Regions from separate parts of the Homo sapiens genome. Here region 2 is linked to region 1. The links are contacts of gene promoters, found by promoter capture Hi-C in blood cells and fetal thymus (Javierre and others, 2016). All regions are on one chromosome and are shown on one strand. Each heading gives the region's core, a stretch centred on a gene start or on the middle of the fragment in contact. The rest is flanking DNA. Distances are from core to core; before and after follow the strand shown. Region 1 holds the start of BEGAIN (brain enriched guanylate kinase associated). Region 2 overlaps LINC02320 (long intergenic non-protein coding RNA 2320).

What was found. The method cuts DNA at HindIII sites, captures the fragments that hold promoters and counts their contacts. A CHiCAGO score of 5 or more calls a contact.
Region 2: a fragment that was not itself captured here is called in contact with the fragment with the promoter of BEGAIN in region 1 in 1 of 17 cell types (endothelial precursors); the score reaches 6.0 in endothelial precursors.

The regions. Positions count from the first base shown.
Region 1 is chr14:100,582,954-100,588,958 of GRCh38, reverse strand. It overlaps BEGAIN (brain enriched guanylate kinase associated), which reads left to right and starts at 1,542. Exons shown (of 7, transcript NM_001385089.1): 1 at 1,542-1,710. The coding sequence starts at 1,669. The HindIII fragment of the contact is 6,858 bases long and covers 1-4,243 here.
Region 2 is chr14:101,641,680-101,647,149 of GRCh38, reverse strand. All of the region lies in intron 1 of LINC02320 (long intergenic non-protein coding RNA 2320), which reads left to right. Among named protein-coding and RNA genes, the nearest start is that of DIO3, 83 kb to the right of the region's middle. The HindIII fragment of the contact is 1,665 bases long and covers 1,436-3,100 here.

The DNA of each region.
Region 1 (6,005 bases), core at 293-2,792:
AGCAAAGAGGCTGGTCCCGTGGTGCACACCAGCGACGGTTTGGGCGAAGTCTGTCCACGCTTCGCCCAAACTGGGAGAGCCCCGCCCTGAGCTGCCGCCTCTCATTTTGTCTTGACTGTGGTGGGGTGCACTTGGAGGCGCCTCCCTCTGTCCATTGGTTACCCAATCATGTCCCTGGGACCTGAGAGGGAGCAGAGACAGGACTTTGCTTGACACGAAGTGGCTCCAGTCAGCTGCTGGTTCTTTTGCTTGTCTCCTTTTTTTCTGGGTTTCCCCTCTTGCCTTGCTATCAGTGCCTTTTCTCAGCACTGACACTGCCTGAATGTAGCAACCTACTCCCCAGATTAAATGAGAGAGCGTAGAAACTGCAAAGCATACAACATACAGCATATAAGGATGGTGGTGATGGCAGCTCAACAGTGGGAACTCAGTGTCCCCAAACTGTACACTTTAAAAGTGGTTAAAATGGTAAATTTTATGTTTTCCATGTTTTCCACAATTAAAAAACAAAAATATACAAGGTACTCATTCGCAGCATCTTCTAATCTGCCATGTACTTGGAAATGATATAAGCATGTGTGAACCATGAGCCCATAGGTCCCGAGGGAGGATATGAGCGAAGCACACGGGCTTTGCCAGCTCTGTTTCCACCACGCAGGACCCTCCCTGGCTGCCAGTGCTCCTCCCCGGGTTCCCACGCTGGCTGCTGCTGGGCTGGCTGGGATGGAAGACCCTCATGTAGCTGGCACCCTCAGGGCTGCCCCTTGCCCGCTCTGGGAGGAGAGAGGAGGGTTCACGCTGCACCTTTACCAGGGTAGGACTGGCCAGCCTGGGCTCTACCGGGCAGGTCGGTGGGATGCTTCAGACTGGAGGGATAGGCAGGGGGCAACACTGGTCCTCCTGAAGCCACCTTCCCTTCCTGAGAGCTCCTTGGGGAGAAGGCAAGCCCTGGAAGCCACCGACTGGGGGCTCGGGCAGAGCAAGGGCAGGGTAAGGGGCAGCTTGGCCAGGAGGCACCCTTGGGAGCCAGGGTTTCCTCATCTGTAAAATGTGACTCTGCGAGGGCAGGAGCTTGGTTTCACTCGCTACTGTACCCCCTGGGGCCTACAGCAGGGCTGGTTGGTACACACTAGGTGTCTAATAAATGTTGAGGGATTGAATGGATGGACCGATGAAAAGGTTGGGCAGGTCATTACTGACAGCCTCTGGGTTTCAAGGGCCCATTCACTCTGTCACTCACCTTCGCGCCCGTGCATTAGTTCTCTCATTTATTCATTCCCCCCGCCCCCCCAGCCCCGCATGCTCTACCGCACTCATTCATTCACGCGCTCAGCCATTCAAGCTGGCGCGGGTTCATTCATTCCCTGCCCCTCTGCCATTCCTCGCCTGGCCCCCGCGCACGCCGCACCCCCGCGCCCCTGCCCGGCCCTGCGCCCACCACTTGCGCCCCGGCCGGGCGCTGCCGGGAGGACGCGCGGGCTCAGCCGCGGCTGCGCGGGGCCGGGGCTGGCGGGGAGCCGGGCTGGGGGCGGGGGGCGGGCGCTCCCTGCGGGAAGCCGGGCGGGGTGGGGGAGCCCCGGCCGCGCCGGCTCCCGGCGCGCTCGGCCTCGGAGGGGAGGGGGCGGCGGTAGCGGCGGCGGCGGTGAGCGGCGCGGCTGCCCTGGGGCCATGTGGACTGGCGGTCGCCGGCCGGGCCGGCTGCGCCGGGCGGTGAGTACCTGCGAGCCGGGAGGGCAGGGCGCGGGCGCGGGCGCGGAGGCGGGGCGGGCGCCACCCACGCCTGGGGCGGTCCCTGCTCAGCGCGGGAGGTGGCCGGCCCCCCGCCCCGCTCCCCTCCGCGCTGCGCCCCCGCCGTGGAGGCTTCACTGGCCCGGGAGGAGCCGGGCCGGGTCTCCTGGGAACTGGGCACTCTCGGGTGGGGCGGGGATGCCCAGCCTCCGCGCGCCGCCGGGAGCGCCCGGGTCCTATCGCGGGGTCCTTGCGCCCTGACACGCGCGCCCCTGCGGCGGAAGGAAAGGAGGGACGGGTGACCAAGGGCGCGGCCGGAGGACTGGGGACCCGCCGCTGTCCCGGGCGGGTGGCGAGGGTGCGGGCAGGCCTGGACCCGCCTGCGTCTGGGGGCAGGGCCAGCCCCTGCTTGGGAGGCCGGAGAAAGGCCCGGGAGCCGGAAGGAGGCTGGACCCGGGGCCGCCTCATTGAGCGTTTGCAGCGCGTGGGCGCGCACGAACCTCGGACACCACCATCCCATTCAGTACCTCGCGGCAGGTACTATCCTCCTGCCCCTTTACAGGCGAGGAAACTGAGGCTCAGGGAGGCCAGGGCCTCGCCCAGAGCGGCTCAGCCGGCGCGCTCACCCTCCCTGAGCCCCAGCACGTTGGATGGGAATTTCTGCCCCAGCGTTTCCGCTTCCTGCTTGGTTTAGAGGTGTTTCCTTCCTCGTCTGTGCCCCACCCCATCCCCAATGTGGTTTCCTCAGGGCAGGAACAGCGTGGGCGACGCGCTGGAGTCTCCTGAGCCGGCAGAATGGGAGCAGAGTGGGCACCCGGGAGCGGGGCCGGATGGATAGGGAGCACTGCACGTGCAAAGTCCGCATGGCCAAGGTCGGCCGCCAGTGCAGACTGGGGGTCCAGGCCCTGGGGGTATGGGTGGGGCGGGGTCTCCACAGCCAGGCTCCGTCGGAGGCCCCAGTGCTCTGGCTCTCTGGAGGCCATGGACAGGTTCTTTTCCTTCTCTGGACCCTAGTTCCTCTGCCTGCCAAGAGCAGCAGAGACCCCCACTACTCCCAGGGCCAGGCTCCCACGAGGACTGTGGGCAGAAGCCCCTAACAAACTGCGGTGTGCAGCCCTGCCAGGCTGGCCTTGGTCTTGCCAGCAGGGGCAACTGGCCGTTGGGGGTGGCTCTGCCTGGCATCTGTGACACGCAGGGCGGGGAGACGGCAGAGAGGGCCCCAGCAGCATCCTGCAAACCCTTAATTTTCCCGACTCTCACTATAATCAGGGCAGCTTGGAAAAGCAAGCACTGTGGCAGATGCGGCTCTGCCCGGGCTCAGCACACGGGCTCTGGGCGATGGGCGGCTGCGCTGCCGCCAAGGGCCCTCCCCAGCTTTTGTCTCATATTTATAGATTCCAAGGCTCCGCGTTCCGTTTGTCGTCAAAACCTGGAGCTGTTCGCACCTGGGAGCTGAGTGGGGAGGGGAGGGCTGCCTAGAACCTCAGCCTGGAGGATGAGTTTTCCATGCGCTGGGGTGGAGTAGGGGGACACCTGTCAGAGCCCAGGCCTGGAGAGAGGAAATGAGCCCTAAGCAATCTGGAAGATCTTCCATCCACTCTCCCAAGACTTGGGCGCAGGGTCTGGCCCACATAGCTGCCATTTATGGAACGCCTGCTATGTACTGGGCCCTGGATCAGCATTTCCACGCATCATCTCCACGGCAACACTTTGAAGGAGCTTCCCTACTCCTGCAGGCACTCCTGATGCTGAAGAGTGGATGGATGGATGAATGGATGGATGGATGGATGGATGGATGGATGGATGGATGGATGGGAGGGAGGGAGGGATGGATGGGAGGGATGGATGGATGGGAGGGAGGGAGGGAGGGATGGATGGATGGGAGGGAGGGAGGGAGGGATGGATGGGAGGGAGGGAAGGAGGGATGGATGGGAGGGATGGGAGGGATGGATGGATGGGATGGATGGATGGATGGATGGGAGGGAGGGAGGGAGGGAGGGATGGATGGATGGATGGATGGATGGATGGATGGATGGGAGGGATTGACTGAAGCCCATGAGTCCATGGCTATTGGACACAGTCCACAAATCATTACCCAGGGTCCCAGGAGGTGGGGTCCAAGGGCTGAGTAGTTGCTGAACAGATGAAGGGGTCAAGGTGTGTTACAGGAGCCTGGCCCAAGGCCTGAAGGTGATGGGGAGAGTGTAGAGTGTTCAAGTCTCAAGACTTAGAGAGGCTGTGTCCTGCTGGAGTGTGGAAGCCATGGCGGTGGGGAGGTGTGGCTCCTCCCCCTAAGGGAGGTAAGGATCCCTGGGACAGATGGGTGGGTGACCCTAGGACTCGCCGTGTTGGTCTAGAATCACCCCGCATGGTTCTCTTCTGACTCCCCTTCCTGCCGCAGAGCTGGTCGCTAGCCTTAGTGGAGAGGCCTGGACGGAGGTCTGCAGCCCTGGGTTCTGGTTCCTCCTCTGCCGCTGACTCACTGTCTCCTCTCTAGGGCTCCGTATCAGAAGCTTAACACCCATTACAGTCAGGGGAGTGACTTCTGTGGCCTGAGAGCAGGCATCAGATTGTAGCCTGTGGTGGGAGAAGCTGGCCAGAGGTGTCTCTATTGCTTTAATCATTATAGGAATGAATGAATGAATGAATGATGAATGACTAAGTGTGTGAATTCTACACTCACCTAACATGCTGTACCTAAGCACCCACTCTGCACTGCTCATTGGGGTCACTTAGGTGAGTCTGACACAGACCTTGCCCTCCACGAGTCCACAGTTTGCTGGGAGACATGGACCTTGGCCAGTACGGCAGGAGTCAGGAGCTGCTGGGGCTCTTCTCTCCCCTCTAGCCAGGAAGGGAACTCAAAAGTGGCCCTTGCCTCAGCAGGCCTTGAGTCTGGAGGACAGTACAGCAGCCTCTGTGGTCTGCCTGGGGTGGGGATCAGCCAGGGCCCAGCTCTGAGCCAAGCAGGGGAATTGCAGTCATTGGTTCAATCAGCAAGCCCTGAGCCCAAGTCAGGGATGGAGATGGGTCAGGCCTGGGCTTTGCCTGGGGAAGCCAGACATGGAAGCCTGGTCATCCCACAGTGGGTGCATGCTGGGATTAAGAGGTGCATGAGGTGGAGAAGCAACGCAGGCATGCTGAAGGGGATGCATGGGTGGATGATACTGTATGGAAGGGAAGCACTAGCAGGATAGAGCAGCGGATGGATGGGTAGAAACCTAGAGGGATAGGCTGGGCGCAGCGGCTCACGCCTGTAATCCCAGCACTTTGGGAGGCCAAGGTGAGTGGACCACCTGAGGTCAGGAGTTCAAGACCAGCCTGACCAATATGGTGAAACCCCGTCTCTATAAAAATACAAAAAAAATTAGGTGGGTGTGGTGGTGTGCACCTGTAGTTCCAGCCATTTGGGAGGCTGAGACAGGAGAATTGCTTGAACCCAGGAGGCAGAGGTGAGGTTGCAGTGAGCCGAGATCGTGCCACTACACTCCAGCCCCTGGGCAACAGAGTGAGACTCCATCAAAAAAAAAAAAAAAAAGGAAGAAAAACGAAAGAGAGAGAGAGAAAGAAAGAAAAAAAGAAAAGAAAGAAAGAAAGAGAGAAAGAGGGATAGATGGACGGGAGGAGAGGTTGATGGATGTAAGTAGCAAGATAGGGATGGGTGGGTGGACAGATGGAAAAGTTGATATGGATACAGGACTGGATTGATAGAACAAAATATCAATGGATGATACATGGGTGGAGGGAGGGAGACTTCTGATACACAAGGCAAGATTGGTAGATGAATGGATGGAAGGATCTTTGGATGGATGGATGAAGGAATGGATACATAAATGGATACAGGTAGTGCCTGGATGTTGGGATGGGTGGATGAATACTTGAATACATGTCCATGAATGATGGACAGAGGAATGAATGGACACTGGAAGAGTGAGTGCATGGATAGGTGATGAGTGTATATTGACGGATGTGTGGATAGAGGCCTGAGAAGGCAGCTCAGTGCACAAATGGATACAAAGCAATGGATGCATGGATACGAGACACAAGTAACAGAGGAATGGACAGACATGGAGGGATGGGCAGGCGGACAGATGGAGACGGGAGTGAGAGGACCAGTGAACAGATGAGTGCCCATCAGCGGGTGAGGGACACAGAGACAGAAGGATGTGTTGGTGCGTGGATGGCACCTGTAAATGGGTGAGCGGTCACAGGGGTGGATGGTGAAGGACGGTTGGTTGAATGGGTGAAGCTTCAGGTCACTCATGCCTTGATTTCCC
Region 2 (5,470 bases), core at 1,019-3,518, 1.1 Mb before region 1:
GCATTCCCACCAACAGTGTACAAAGGCTCTAATCACTCTATATCCTTGTCAACACTTTTATTTTCTGTTTTTTTTTTTTTTTTTTTTTTTTTAAATAGCCATCCTAATGGGTGTGAGGTCTTTGACTTGCATTTCTCTAATGATTAGTGATGCTGAACATCTTTCCCTGTGCTTATTGGCCATTTGTGGACTTCTTAGAGAAATGTCTATTCAAATCCTTGCTCAATTTTGAATCAGGTTGTTTGTTTTTTGGTGTTGAGTTTAAAGAGTTTTGTGTATTTTCTCTGTAATGTAGATTTTCTTTTTACTCTGTTGATTATGTCTTTTGATGCATAAAATTTTTCAATTTTCATAAAGTCAATTTTTTCTATTTTTTTCTTTTGTTGCCTGTACTTTTGGTATGACATCCAAAAAATTACTGCCAAATCCAATGTTATGAAGATTTTGCCCTATGTTTTTTCTAGGAGTTTCATAATTTTAGGTCTTATGTTTAGGGCTTTAATCCATTTTGAGTTAATTTTTGTATGTGGTTTCAGGTAAGGGTTCAACTTCATTCTTTTGCATGTGTGTATCTAGTTCTCCTAGCATCACTTGTTGAAAAGACTGCCTTTACCCCATTGAGTGGTCTTGGCATCCTTGTAGAAAATAATTTGACCATATATGCAAAGCTTTTGGACTCTTTGTTCTATTCCATTGGTCTACATGTCTGTCTTTATGTCAGTACCACTCTGTTCTGATTACTATAGCTTTGTATCAAATTTTGAAATCAAGAAGTGTTATTCCTCCATCTTTGTTGTTCTTTTTTTTCCTTTCAGGATTGCTTTGGCTATTAGGGATCCCTTGAACTTCCACATAAATTGTAGGATGACTTTTTCTATTTCTGCAAAAACATTAATGGGATTTTGATCAGGATTGCCTTGAATCTGTAGATTATTTTGAGTAGTACTGACATCCTGACAACATTAAGCCTTCCAATCCATGAACATGGGATGTTTTTCCACTTATTTATGTCTTCTTTAATTCCTTTCAGCAATATTTTATAGTTTTCATTGTACATATCTTTTATCCTTTGGTTAAGTTAATTCTTAAGAATTTTACTCTTTTTGATGCCATTAATGAAATTATTTTCTTAATTTCCTTTTTGGATTGTTCAATGACAGTGTACAGAAATGCCCTAATTTTTGCTTGTTGACCCTGTATCCTGTTACTTTGCTGAATTTGTTATTAGTGCTATAATAGATATTTTTCTTGGTGGAATCTTTAGAGTTTTCTACATACAATTCATCTGTGAACAGGGATAATTTTGCCTCTTTATTTCCAATTTGGATTCCTTTTTTTCTTGCCCAGTTGTTCTAGTTAGGACTTCCAGTACTATGTTGAATAGAAGTGGTAACAGTAGCATCCTTACCTTACTCCTGATCTTAGAGGAAAAGCTTTCAGTCCTTCACTACTGAATTTGATGTTTACTGTGGGTTTTTCATATATGGATTTTATTACATTAAGGCAATTTCCTTCAATTTCTGACTTGTTGAGTGTTTTTAACATGAAAATGTGTTCAGTTTTATACAAGGCTTTTTCTATATCAGTTAGGATGACCGTGTCTTTTTTTCCCCCTTTTAGTTAGTGTGGTGTATTATATTGATTGATTTTTATATGTTGAAATGTCTTTGCATTTCAGGAATAAATACAACTTGGTTATGCTGTATAATTCTTTTAATATGTTGCTGAATTCAGTTTGCTAGTATTTTGTTGAGGAAATTTGCATAATTTTCTAAGGAATCTTGGTCTGTAGTTTTCTTGTGGTATCTTTGTCTGGCTTTGATATCAGCATATGATGGCCTCATAGAATAAGTTTGGGAGTGTTCTCTTCAATTTTTTAGTAATGTTTGAGAAGAATTGGTATTTGTTCATCTTTAAATGTTTTTTAGAATTCACTTAGGAAGCCATCATGTCCAGAGTTTTTCTTTGTCAGAAGATTTTAAATTACTGCTTAAATCTCCTTTCCAGTTATACGTTTATTCAGATTTTCCATTTTCTCACATTTTAGTCTTGTCAGGTTTTGGGTTTCTAGACATTTGTCTATATCATCTAGGTTATCTAACTTGTTGATGTACAATTATTCATAGTGCTCTCTTACAATCCTATTTATTTCTGTAGAATTTGTAGTAATACTCCCAGTAATTTAGAAATTATTTCTGACTTCAATAATTTGAGTGCTCTTGCTCTCCCTCCTTTTTTTTTTTGTCTATCTAGCTAAAGAATTGTCAATTTTGTTGATCTTTTTGAGGAGCTAACTTTTGGTTTTGTTGATTTTCTTTATTATTTTTCTTTAAAAATTTTTAAATCTTTATTATTTTCCTCATTCTGCTAGCTTTGGGCTTAGTTTGTTTTCATTTTTCTAGTTCCTTAAGTTGTAAATTTAGGTTGTTGATATGAGATCTTTCTTAATTTTTAAAGGAAGATTTATAGGTATAAATTTCTCTGTTAGGACTGATTTTGCTGTGTTACATACGTTTTGGTGTGTTTTGTTTCTGTTTTCATTCATCTCTAAGTATTTTCTAACTTCTCTTGTTATTTTCCTTTGATCCATTGGCTGTTTAAGAGTGTGTTGTTCAATTTCCACAAATTTTTGAAATTTCCAGTTTTCCTTTTGTGACTGATTACTAACTTCATTCTGTTGTGGTCAGAGAAGACACTTTGTATTATATTTATCTTTTAAAATTAATTAAGGCATAATTTGTAGTCTAACATATATTTTATCCTGGAACATATCTCGTGAACACTTGAGAAGAATGTGTATACTGTTATTGGGCACAGTGTTCTGTACATGTCTATTAGATTTAATTGGTTTATTGTGTTGTTCAAGTCCTATATTTCCTTACTTATCTTCCGTCTGATTGTTCTATCCATTATTAAAAATGGGATATTGAATTGTCCAACTATTGTTATAGATCTATTTCTTTCTTCAGTTTTGTCAGTTTTTGCTCTACATATTTGATGCTTTATATACCAGTTGTGAAAATGTTTATAACTGTTTATGTCATCTTTCTGTATGGAATGGTTTACTAATATATAAGTCTTTTTCTGTCTCTTATAAGCTTTTTTGATTTAAAATCTATTTTGTCTGATATTAGTATAGCTATTACTGGTCTCTTTTGGTTATTATTTTCATGGAATATCTTTACATTCTTCACTTTCAGCCTATTTCTGTCTTTGGATGGAAAGTGAGCCTTTTGTGGACAGCATATAGTTGGATCGTGCTTTTTAAATCCACTCTGCCAATCACTTTTGATTGGAGAGTTTAATCCATTTACATTTAAAGTAGTTTCCAAGAAGGAAGAACTTATTTCCGTCATTTTGTTATTTGCTATTTGTTTTCTCTAAGCCTCGTAGCTCTTTTGTCCCTTATTACCTTCGTTTCTTTTTCGTCTTGACGACACACTTAAACTTCTTTCTCATTTCCATTTTTTTGGTATATTATTTAGCTATTTTATTTGTGGTTACTGTGGTGATTACGTTTAACACTCTAGTTATAAAACTCTAATTTGAATTGTACAGAGAGTTTTATGCTTACTTCCTCATGGTTCCCACCACCTCAGAATTTTATCCCCTAAGTCCCAGATGGTTAGGCAGCTCTAAACTCCAACTTCTGTCTCCTAAACTTGCAAAGACTTCTGCTTTCTTCTTGGACTTTGTTTTTCTGAATTGGGAAGTAGAAAATGCCCTTATGGAAAATGTGAGGATATTTGTGAAATGTATGTCATGTACTTACCTTCTCTCAGTGTTCATAACCCTTCAAGTTCTGTTGGCCTTGGCTGGTCTCTAATGCCTTCATATAATTGTCTTATATGTTTTACGTATCTTTTTTTTTTTTTTTTTTGAGACAGAGTCTCGCTCTGTCCCCCAGGCTGGAGTGCAGCAGCGCGATCTCTACTCGGCTCACTGCAAGCTCCGCCTCCCGGGTTCACGCCGTTCTCCTGCCTCAGCCTCCCGAGTAGCTGGGACTACAGGCGCCCACCAACACTCCCGGCTAATTTTTTATATTTTTAGTAGAGACGGGGTATCACCGTGTTAGCCAGGATGGTCTCGATCTCCTGACCTCGTGATCCGCCTAACTTGGCCTCCCAAAGTGCTGGGATTACAGGCGTGAGGCACCGCGCCCGGCCGTTTTAACTATCTTTTGCAGTTGTTGTCAGTAAGAGGATTAGCTCTACAAGTCATTCTGTCATGGCTAGAGTCAGAATCCCACTGCCCTTCAGAATTTCTTTTTAAAATTTAATGCATTATAGTACATTGAGGATAACATTTTTACAAATTTTCCAGACGATAGCCTCTTCAAGTGTTCTTGAAAACTTTTGACATGTCTCTAGCAGTTTTGAGTGCTTCCTTACTTTCTGGCACAAATATTTTTTACTTCCCTTGCCCCAGGCCTATTAAACAGCTTCTAGGACAGTTTAGTGGAGACAGATAAAAAGTAAATACTCAAAAATTATTTCATACCAGTACTTCTAATGTCATTCCAACATCTTGAAGTTCTTCCCCTCCTCCCGTTTCATTTTTGAATCCCCCTTCTCTCCAAAAGAACCCTGCTTTTCAATAACATCCATATATTTACTTTTTGCTCAATCTTACAATGAACAGAAAATAGTTTAGGGACTGCAGCCCCAAATCCACTACCAACAGCAAATTTTTCAATAAAGTCCAGGATTTCTTTAAGTTCTTCTTCTACACAAACAGATCGATGTGTTCAAAAAGTGTTTGTAGTTATTATCATTTTCTTCTATGCGGTCATGATATCAAACTGATATACAGTTATCTCCGCTTGTTTCTGTTGATTTCAGTGTGTTCCCCCAAATCTTATTTAATTTTATTTTATAAATGTATAATATATTAACATGATTTAAAAGTCAAAATAGTTAAAAAAGGTACAGAGAAGTCTCATTTTCTTTCCTTTCCCTTACTATGAGTGGAGGTGAGCATTTACAAATTTGTATTTAAGGTGTCTACTCTTATAGTTAACCAATTTTGTTGGCTTCTGTTTTATTCTATTTCTTTTTACATATATTTACAATTTTCTCTATTTCTTTTCTGGAACTAGATGGCTTCAACTTCTTATCTTTACTGGGATCAATTTCGGTAAATTGTACTTTCCTAGAAAAGCTGCTTTCTGTTTCCGTGGATTTGTCTAATCTGCATATATCACATAAAAGAAACCAGGCAATATGTGACCTTGTGTGTCTGGCTACTTTCACTTAACATTCTTGAGGTACATCCAAGTTGTAGCAGGTATCAGCACTTTGTTCCTTTTTATGGCTGAGTGATGTTCCCTTGTATGGATAGACCACATTTTGTTTATCCATCATCCATTGAAGGACATTTGGGTTGTTTCTATCTTTTGGGCATCATGAATAATTCATGTACAAGTTTCTGTGTGGACATATGCTTTCATTTCTTTGGGGTATATTCCTAG